Linked DNA regions of Homo sapiens: region 1 is linked to region 2. Evidence: promoter capture Hi-C in 16 types of primary human blood cells and fetal thymus (Javierre and others, 2016). All regions are on one chromosome and are shown on one strand. Each heading gives the region's core, a stretch centred on a gene start or on the middle of the fragment in contact. The rest is flanking DNA. Distances are from core to core; before and after follow the strand shown.

What was found. Contacts are between HindIII fragments. The CHiCAGO score rates a contact against its expected background, and 5 or more counts as called.
Region 1: the fragment with the promoter of PLK2 here is called in contact with the fragment with the promoter of MOCS2 in region 2 in 1 of 17 cell types (activated CD4 T cells); the score reaches 10.2 in activated CD4 T cells.

The regions. Positions count from the first base shown.
Region 1 is chr5:58,458,836-58,464,207 of GRCh38, reverse strand. It overlaps PLK2 (polo like kinase 2), which reads left to right and starts at 4,122. Exons shown (of 14, transcript NM_006622.4): 1 at 4,122-4,518; 2 at 5,116-5,223; 3 at 5,367-5,372. The coding sequence starts at 4,249. RefSeq lists a silencer at 3,625-3,804. The HindIII fragment of the contact is 4,873 bases long and covers 2,783-5,372 here.
Region 2 is chr5:53,108,507-53,113,247 of GRCh38, reverse strand. It overlaps MOCS2 (molybdenum cofactor synthesis 2), which reads left to right and starts at 3,491. Exons shown (of 7, transcript NM_004531.5): 1 at 3,491-3,997; 2 at 4,605-4,726. It overlaps MOCS2-DT (MOCS2 divergent transcript), which reads right to left and starts at 3,406. Exons shown (of 2, transcript NR_104654.1): 1 at 3,100-3,406. RefSeq lists a silencer at 3,463-3,752. The HindIII fragment of the contact is 4,897 bases long and covers 617-4,741 here.

The DNA of each region.
Region 1 (5,372 bases), core at 2,873-5,372, 5.4 Mb before region 2:
TATAATCCTTTGGGTATACACTCAGTAATGGAATTGCTGGGTCAAATGGTATTTCTGGTTCTAGATCCTTGAGGAATGGCCACACTGTCTTCCACAATTGAACTAATTTACACTCCCACCAACAATGTAAAAGCGTTCCTATTTCTCCACATCCTCTCCAGCATTCGTTGTTTCCTGACTTCTCAATGATCGCCATTTTAACTGGCGTGAGATGTATCTCACTGTGGTTTTGATTTGCATTTCTCTAATGACCAGTGATGATGAGCTTTTCTTCATGTTTGTTGATAGCATAAATGTTTTCTTTTGAGAAGTGTCTGTTCATATCATTTGCCCACTTTCTGATGGGGTTGTTTTTTTTCTTGTAAATTTGTTTAAGTTCTTTGTAGATGATGGATATTAGCCCTTTGTAAGATGGATAGATTGCAAAAATTTTCTCCCATTCTGTAGGCTGCCTGTTCACTCTGACGATAGTTTCTTTTGCTGTGCAGAAGCTCTTTAGTTTAATTAGATCCCGGCAAATGGGCACGGTTCTTTTAAATAAAAACTTATTGACAAATGTAAGAATTGGGCTTAATTTGGCCAGGGTTTTTATCATTTGTTGATGTGTCATGCATCATTTTATATATGAGATTATATCCATAGGATAAATTCCTAAGTAAGAGAATACATTCATTTCTAAATTTGATAGATTTGGCCAAATTACTTTTCACTGAAATTATATCAATTTCCATTCCCAACAGCAATATATGGAGTGCTGCTTCCTCAACACTTCAGCAGTTGAGCATGTTCACGGCAACTTTTGAGGGTTTTGCCAATTTTGTAGGAAAGGGTGCCTCAGTATATCTTTCATTTCAATTTCTCTTCTGAAGAGTGAAATTGAGCAAATGTAAGAACCATTTGTTTTCTGTTGGATAATTGGTATTTTATCCAATTGTAGGAGTTTTTATATAACAGGAAGATAAGCTCTTTCTCTGTGATGAGTTGAAAATAATTTTTCCAGTGTTATTTATCCTTTGACTTTATTTGTGGTGTTTTGTTATTTTAAATCAATGAAAGGGTTTTGTTTCTATATAGTTACATTAATGAATCTTGCTTTTTTTTTTTTTTTAGGGATTCTAGATTTTGTAAATAGTTGAAAGTTCTACCACATTCAGGCTATGAAAGAATTCTTTCATATTGTCTTAAAATTTCACGTATTTCAAACTTTCATTTGCTTGAAAATAAGCCAGATATGAAGCATGGATCCATTTTTTCCTTCCTACTGGTTACCAAATTGACTCCATGATATTTAGTAATTAGTCTACTTAATAGAAAGCGCATTTATTTCCTTTTTTGTTCTATAGACTACAATTTTGGTTCTGTCCACATGATGGCACCACAACCCCAAAAAAATCATGTTCTCAGTCGGAAAGAAGACAACATAAGATTTACACAGCGTTAATATTTTATTAAATGCCTCCATGTTGTGGCAGACAGACCTGAATTTCACATGGAATGTTCAACAGTTTATCAAATACTGAAGTCCATTTGGTAAAGATACATACCATAGTGTATGCTAATCAAAGAAGAAATTGACATTTAAAAAAAAATCATGACAATCTATTCTTCAGTTTTTTATCTTAGGCCACAAATGAATACACATACACATACACACATATGTATACATATACAGTTTATTATCAACCATAAAGACATGGTGTGTAAACTAGCTTTGATAAATTCTAGTAATATTTTCTAAACCTGCAAGCCTTCTACATCTTAGAGAGTAGGTTTGCACAAATCTGGGAAGCAAAGGTCACCCCTGGGCTTATGAATAAAGAGGATAATTACGTAATTCTGAATTTCCACCCCTAAGCCCCACCCCTTATTCCATCCCTGACAATCTTGGGGTTAAAGTCTATTGTCACTTATGAGAAACATGCCTGGACTTGCCCTGCACTCTTTAAAGAATCAAAAACGGAAGTGACAGCAAAGACTTTCCCTTTCTCCTCGCTAATGGCAAAGCCTTTCCCTTTCTCCTCTCTAATGGCAATAAGCCTCTTTTCCACATTATGCTGGAAGTATTTGAGACACAGTATTTTTGTAAATGTTCGATTAATGTTGATACCACACATACCTAAATTTGACAGTGGACTGCAGCAACTTTTTGTATGTACCTTCCAGGGATTCAATAATCTGGTATTCTAAATTTCTCTGGAATTTAGCTTCAAAAAACTATTTACCATATCCTGTTAACATAGGTAAAAAGATTCAAGTGTGCTGCTAATTAACCTAACCTCGATGATCTAGTAAAAATATACAATAATTACCTAAGTTCTCCAAGCCTCATCTATAAAATGGGAATAATAATGTAGGAGATGAGAATATGCCACCCCAAATATGGCCCTGGGATAAAGATTATTTTAAGATAATTATTTTGAGAACCAGCAGACCCAGGAAATGCTCTAAAAATGGCATATTACCCTTTCGTAAGGGAAACGTACATTCACTAAAAAAAAAAACAACAAAAACAAAAAACAAAAAAACCCCACAAAACTCCATTTGTAAAAGTGTCTCCTCTGTACCAGGAAGAATGACTCTAAATCATGAAAAACTTATCAATGAAGAAATAAGAAACCCCACTCCTGTTTACCGTACATTTCCTGGTCATGATTCCTTAACTTGCCTGCCCCACTCTTTTCTTTTGGTTTAGCTAAAGATAGTATTTAAGCCCGATTTTAAACCATCTCTAATTTTCCTGGTTATCTCCCATGTATATATGAGACGTATATGTTAATAAGCTTCTTTGTTTTCTTGTTAATCTGTCTGGTTACAGCGACCCAGGCCAAAACTTTGAAAGGTGGAAAATTATTTTTCCTTCCTTACAATATTTCTCTCAGAATTGTTGTAGGATGAAATAAGGCATTTAAAAATACTGCACAGTCCTCAATAAATGTTACTCTATCGTAATTAGAACAAGAAAAACAAACAAAAAAACGTGTTCCTAGATTAGTCAAACTGCACAGCAAAATCTGGAAATGGGAAACTAAGCTGTGTTTGCACTCACTGGCCTACGCTCCTCTCTTCATCCTACCAATCTCCCTACCCCAGAAAGTCTCAGATTGACTCTCCAGGAACCAGGGCAGCTCATGAGCCATCTCAACAGATGCATTCGGAAGAAGTCATAGATGACTCTGATTGGAAACTCACAATCGGCATCGATGTTTAGTACTAGTAACTGTCAAAGGCCCACGGTTGTCAACCGCTGCCCACTTCGACACCTAACGGCATTCCGGAACATTCCACAAGATGGCGCCCTTGCTTTCCAATCTTCGGGCTACGGGCGGAGGACGCCTTGCCAGGACGCCGACCTCGCTCTGCAAGGTTCAGGGGCCGACCTCAGACAGAGGCTCGCTCTAGGGGCATGGGCGGGGGCCAGACGGGCCTCGAGTGGGATCCTGGCACGGTTGGCCGATCGGCCCGGGATCCCGGCTGCGGGCCCGTGTCTGCCCTAGCGCGATGGGCTCGAATGCCCGGCTCCACGAATCCCGGCCTTTCACCCCCACGGCCTCTCGGCACTGCCCCAGCTAGACACCAGCGAGCTCGTCACAGCGCGGGCAGGCACTGCGGGGCAGCTGCAGACGAGCCCTGTCATACGGCCGGAGGAGGCCTCGCCTGCCCGTGCGGCGGGCTCCGGGCACCCTGATACCTTGACACAGGAGGCCCCGGGCGGCCGGGAAGGGCTGTGCGGGGGAGGGACTGCGTCTACACCCGCGCCCGACTCGCTCGGGTCACGGCACTGCCCTGCCACCAGGCGGCTGGGGCGGGGGTGAGGCCAGGCGTCGGCCCTCGCGATTCTGTTTTGTACGCTGAGGCTCGGAGCCTTCGAAGAACGGGACAGCGGGGCCCACGGACGGCTCTGAAGGCCTTCCCGCGGCCGCAAGAGATCTCGGCGGCCGGCGTTTGAGGCGCGCGGCTCCGCTGGGAAGCGAGACCCGGGTGGCGGGACAAGACTTGCTTCCCGGCCACGCGCGCTCGGCCGGCCGTGGGGCGGGGCATAGGCCGTGACGTGATGTCGCGTATCGAGTCTCCGCCCCCTTCCCGCCTCCCCGTATATAAGACTTCGCCGAGCGCTCTCACTCGCACAAGTGGACCGGGGTGTTGGGTGCTAGTCGGCACCAGAGGCAAGGGTGCGAGGACCACGGCCGGCTCGGACGTGTGACCGCGCCTAGGGGGTGGCAGCGGGCAGTGCGGGGCGGCAAGGCGACCATGGAGCTTTTGCGGACTATCACCTACCAGCCAGCCGCCAGCACCAAAATGTGCGAGCAGGCGCTGGGCAAGGGTTGCGGAGCGGACTCGAAGAAGAAGCGGCCGCCGCAGCCCCCCGAGGAATCGCAGCCACCTCAGTCCCAGGCGCAAGTGCCCCCGGCGGCCCCTCACCACCATCACCACCATTCGCACTCGGGGCCGGAGATCTCGCGGATTATCGTCGACCCCACGACTGGGAAGCGCTACTGCCGGGGCAAAGTGCTGGGAAAGGTGACAAGCGGAGGGCGCCGGGCTGCCGGGCGGGCGGGAGGTCTGTCCGGGCGACCCCAAGCCGGGCAAGCCCGCGGGGTCCCTCGCCCGCCGCTTCCGGGTTTTTCGGGGGTCCGATCCCAGCGCGAGGTGGGCTCCTCACCTGCCCTCTGGCTTTTGTGCGCCGGCAGCGCTGGGGATCGGCTTTGCATTCTTAGCCTCAGAACTGTGTGTCTCCCGCAGCCCAGAGAAATGCATCTTGAGTCTGGAAGCGAGGGCTTTCTACATCAGACCTCTCTCCCTCTATCTGCTCCCAGGGAATTTTCCTGACAAGTCTCATCAGAGATTATTTTTCATGTCTCCCCGTTCCAACTCCCTCCATAAAGCTCCCCTTTATAAAAGAAGAAGAGAAACTGTTTGAACTTGCTGTTTCCAGCAATGCATTTCTCTTCATGAGGGAGCTTTAACGAAGTCGAATGCCTCCCTCTGTCCACCCTCCTCCATTCCTCAATTTTTTTTTTTTTGCTTTTCTTTCTTCCCATTTATTTATTTATTTAAAATATCTGCCGTCCATTTTTGTGCCATCCTCAATTCCGTCTCGGCTTTGTTTCCTTTCAGGGTGGCTTTGCAAAATGTTACGAGATGACAGATTTGACAAATAACAAAGTCTACGCCGCAAAAATTATTCCTCACAGCAGAGTAGCTAAACCTCATCAAAGGGAAAAGGTGCGTATGACTCTTGAGTAAAGTATTTTCTTTGTGTGCAAGGATGGCCCTTCCCTGTTAGGAAAATGTCTTCTGCATGTGTAATCACTGGCTTTTCCGAGGTGACTGGAAGCTAATAAGCCTTACCTTGCTTTTTCATTTAGATTGAC
Region 2 (4,741 bases), core at 2,242-4,741:
AGTTAAGCCTAAAGCTGCCTCCTTACAAATTTTAAGTTTGGCCTAAAGGTTTCTCAACACACAGTGAATTGTAACCTAACTGCATGTGTAAACAGGCTGTAACCTACTCTTATACCAATCACTGTGTTGCAGCCCATCAAAGGCAGCCAACTGTTCGAACCTTGTTCAAGTAAGGTAAACACCAAGCTGTAACCAATCCAGCTGTTTCTGTACCTCATTTTCTTTTCCTGTAATTTATTTGCTTTTTTTGTCCATAATTCTTTGATCATGTGGCAGCACTGGAGTCTCTTTGAACCTGTTCTGGTTGGGAGAGGGGCACATTTCACAAATTGTTCTTTGCTCATTTTAATTTGTCCAAAGTTTTTCTTTTGACACAATGAACTCTGATTCTGCCAGGTGTTTCTGGGAAAATTGTTTTTCAGAAAAGGCAATGAACATTTTTGATAATTTGCTACTACACGTGTGTCTGGAATTGGTTCCTTCCGGTGGGTTCTTAGTCTGACTTCAAGAATGAAGCCTCAGACCTTCGTGGTGAGTGTTACAGCTCTTCAAGGTGGCATGGACCCAAAAAGTAAGCAACCCTAAGATTTATTGTGAAAAGTGAAATAACAAAGCTTCCACAGCATGGAAGGTGATCCGAGTGGGTTGCCACTGCTGGCTAGGGGCGCCAGCTGTTATTCCCTTATTTGTCCCTGCCCACGTCCTGCTGATTGGTCCATTTTACAGGGTACTGATTGGTCCATTTTACAGAGTGCTGATTGGTGCATTTACAATCCTTTAGCTAGACACAGAGCGCTGACTGGTGTGTTTTTACAGAGTGCTGATTGGTGCACTTATAATCCTTTAGCTAGACAGAAAAGTTCTCCAAGTCCCCACTCGACCCAGGAAGTCCAGCTGGCTTCACCTCTCACAAGCAACGTTATGTTTCTCATCTTCTAACAGAGCGTTCTGTGAAGGTCTGAGATGCTCCTACATTTCTAGTCTCATGGAATCTCGTCTTTTTTCAATCTGAAAACAAAATGGAAATGTTTTTGCCTCAACTTGTTTTTTTTCTTAACCAAATAGGATTCCTTATGGTAAAAATAACTGGGAAAATGGTGGCTCCAACTATGTTTTCACAAAAAATTGTAGCTTAAGTGAAATGCAAATGTTCATAAAGTCATTTTGCTATTACTAAAATAATTTATATACCATTGTGATGATTCACTGATTTAATTAATGAATTCATAAGAAAAGTAAAATCAAAGCCTATGGAATAAGCCTGGAATATTTTGGTATCAGTTTTGCTTGCATATCCACAAATTATAGATGGGGCTGTATTTTGTAAAAAAAAAAAGAACTGTGTCATATCTACAGCATAATGAATAAACGATGTGAACAGAAACTTCACAGAGAAGTATAAGTGCTCAATGAAAATATGAAAAGATTCACCTCATTAGGAATTAGAAAATAAAAAAATGAAAGCAAGGCAATATTATTGACCTATATTTACTTGAATTTATCAACAAAATAACTGGTGAAACTGATAGGATTATAAATCATCAGATTATTGTTTATTTGTAAAAGATAGTTGCTCCTAAAATATTTTCTAAAATAAAGAAGATTATGAAAAATATTAAGAAACCTGAATTGATATTTTGTAACTATATGTTCCCACTTTGGACAGTTTCCATTTTTTTTTAATATTCTGATGTCATTTACATTTTATTTTATAATCATATCCCATAATTGATATCTTAGTTTTACGTTTGAATGGGTTAAAATCTCAATGCCAGTTTTTTTAGTTTTTCATTTTTCCCATATTAATACCTTTATTGCTGAGTTATTTACTTTGATTACTCTTGATTGAGTGGACTTTTTGCCCAAGAAAGATTTTTAAGAAGGGTTCTTGGGTATTGTGTTTTTTGAGTTTTTGCTGATTTAGGAGAATCCTGCCCCACCAGTTTGGCTGTAATATTATGGGATCATGCTTTTGTTCTCAGCCTTTTTTACACACTGCACATTGCCATCAGATGCCACTGAGGAGTCTAAGGCCACTATTGTCATTCCCTTGTTTTTATGCCTGGGTGTGAATATAGTCTTTATCCTTTATGTTTAGCAACTTTACCAGGATACACATTGGTATTCATTGCTCCTTGTCAATTTTTCCTACCAAGGACTCTCCAGCCTCACTTCTCATCACCTCCTTTGCTGGAGGCACACCTGCCTTGCCAACTACTTGCCCTTCTGTGAACTTATTATGCTTCTTCATATCCCTGTGGCTTGTCAGAGGCAAGTGAAATTTCTTCGTGCTCTACTCCCACTCTTGTCATTTACTGCCACCATTCTAGCAGATTTACCTTCTCAGCATCTTCTCACTCCCCAGGTGACACAACCACTTTCCCCTTCCACCCTTGAAATGTAACACAGATCCTTAGTATTACAGGGAATTATCATTCATATTTAAAACTCTCCTACCCAGGACTGTGAGCTCCAAGGAAAGGGACGTGTAACTTACATCCACTTAACGACGCAAGCAATTTAAAGCCAAGAGTTCTTGTTGGCAAGAATTGGGAAAGTTGGACGGACAGTATACAATTACCGAGCAGCCAATAAACAGGAAAAGTCATACAGTTCGAATGTTCTGACCAGGCGGATATTCTGTCTTTAAGAAACACTAATCATATACCTGGGAAAGAAAAAAATCTTGGGCCCCTTCAAACTGGGAATTACTCAGGGCAAATCTGCCTCCTATTCTATCCAAGTCACCTCTTTTGCTGACAAAGAATAGATGCATATTCTGATTGCCTCCTTTAGAAAGACTTATCAGAAACTCAAAAGAATGCTACTGTCTATTACCTACCTGGAAGCCCCCAGTTGGGGGGGGCGGGGCTTGCTTTTAACGGTCTCCGCCTTTCTGGAAGGAACTAATGTACTTTTTACATATTGATTGATGTCTCCTGTCTCCCCAAAATGTATAAAACCAAGCTGTGCCCTGACCACCTTGGGCACATGTCCTCAGGACTTCCTGAGGCTGTGTCACGGGCATGTCCTCAACGTTGGCAAAATAAACTTTCTAAGTTAACTGAGACCTGTCTCAAATTTTCGAGGTTCACATACCGTAGGTAAAAGTGTCAGAAGCCTAAAGGTGAGCCAGTGGAAAAGCCTGAAGACCCCTGCAAGGTTATTAGCTAAGCCTCCATAACGCAGGCGGCAAGTGTCCAGGAGTCTGGCGTCTGCTCGCCTGCACCACGACCTCCCTCCTGGGGAGAAGGACATGCATGGTAAGCCATTTCTCCATTTCCATACTGATTGCTTCCTCTCACCACCACGGCCCATCTGCGAAGCAAAACTAATCCTGGCGTGGAACAGGCCGCCTGAGGGAAACAGCTAGAGCCCGGCGCGGGGCGGAGCTGGTTGTGCGCATGCTCCGTGCAGGCGCAGGCGGGGGCTGAGCGCCGTCGGGTTACGCCTGCGCTCCGGGTGAGCCCGCGCCTGCGCCTTTGCGGCCGTGATTCGGTCCCGCTGTCCTAGGCGGGATGGTGCCGCTGTGCCAGGTAAGGGTGGCGGGTGTGCGTGCGGGCCTGGGTGCGGAGCCCTCCTCGACGTGTCTCTCCCGCCCTTTCCCTCCACATACCCAGCCTTGGTCAGTCGGACCTCCCCACTAGCCCCCAACCTGGCCGGCGTCTTGGGTTCGGGGGCGCCCCCGCCCCCGCCCCCGGGCCCTTCCTGTCTCCGGGCTTTACTGCGACTGCCCCAGCAGAAGTCGGGTCCTCTCCGAGAACTCTTGTCAGCTCACGGCAGCAAGGACGGACTCGTTCTGAAGGCGCCTCCACCTTTTATGACCACCTCTTTCCCAGATTATTCGTTTTGATGAAGCTAAAATTTTAATCTAAAAAGAAATGCACCTCATGGAGAATTCTTGTGAAGAACTGTGCTTCATCTGTGGATTTCTACACCCTTGATCATTTGCAAACCTGTAATTATTTCGTAAAGAGTTGTTTGCACGGAGTGACAGGTGCCTATTTTACTTCGTCGGATCCCTTACATACCAGGCTGCTGGCACAAGTTTGTTCTAGCAAATTCCAGTCTGTCGTGTGTTTCAAACCTACTTGCTTCTGTAAATGTCAGATTTACTATGTTGCATAACTTAATCCTTAGCGTCTGGGGACGATGTTATACAGACCGGAATCTAAGGTCATTTGACAACCGTGAGAAACAGGTTTTTCGCTTATTTATTCATTTATTTTATTTGTGTAACTCATCTCTTGACTCAAACATTTGTTCTTTGCTTACATATTTATAAAAGGTGCTATACTTTTATGTCAATTAAGGCAGGCTTAACATGTTTTCCTAGAAGATAAATACTTAGGATTTTAATGATGGCACACTTAAGTTTGTAAAACTAAAAGGCATCCAGAAATTAGTCTGAATTGTATTTAAAACAACAAGTTTTCAGAATTTGAACTTGTAGGTATACTGAAATTTTTTACGGGTTATTTAATTTTCTTTATAAAATTTGTCTTTGATTAAAGCAATACATTTGGAAAATGAGAAAACTGCTCAACATTGACAGTCAGAAAACGAGTATGAGTTGTTATTAAAAGCATTTTCTTTACTTTCAGGTTGAAGTATTGTATTTTGCAAAAAGTGCTGAAATAACAGGAGTTCGTTCAGAGACCATTTCTGTGCCTCAAGAAATAAAAGCGTTGCAGCTGTGGAAGGAGATAGAAACTCGACATCCTGGGTAGTTAAAAATTTG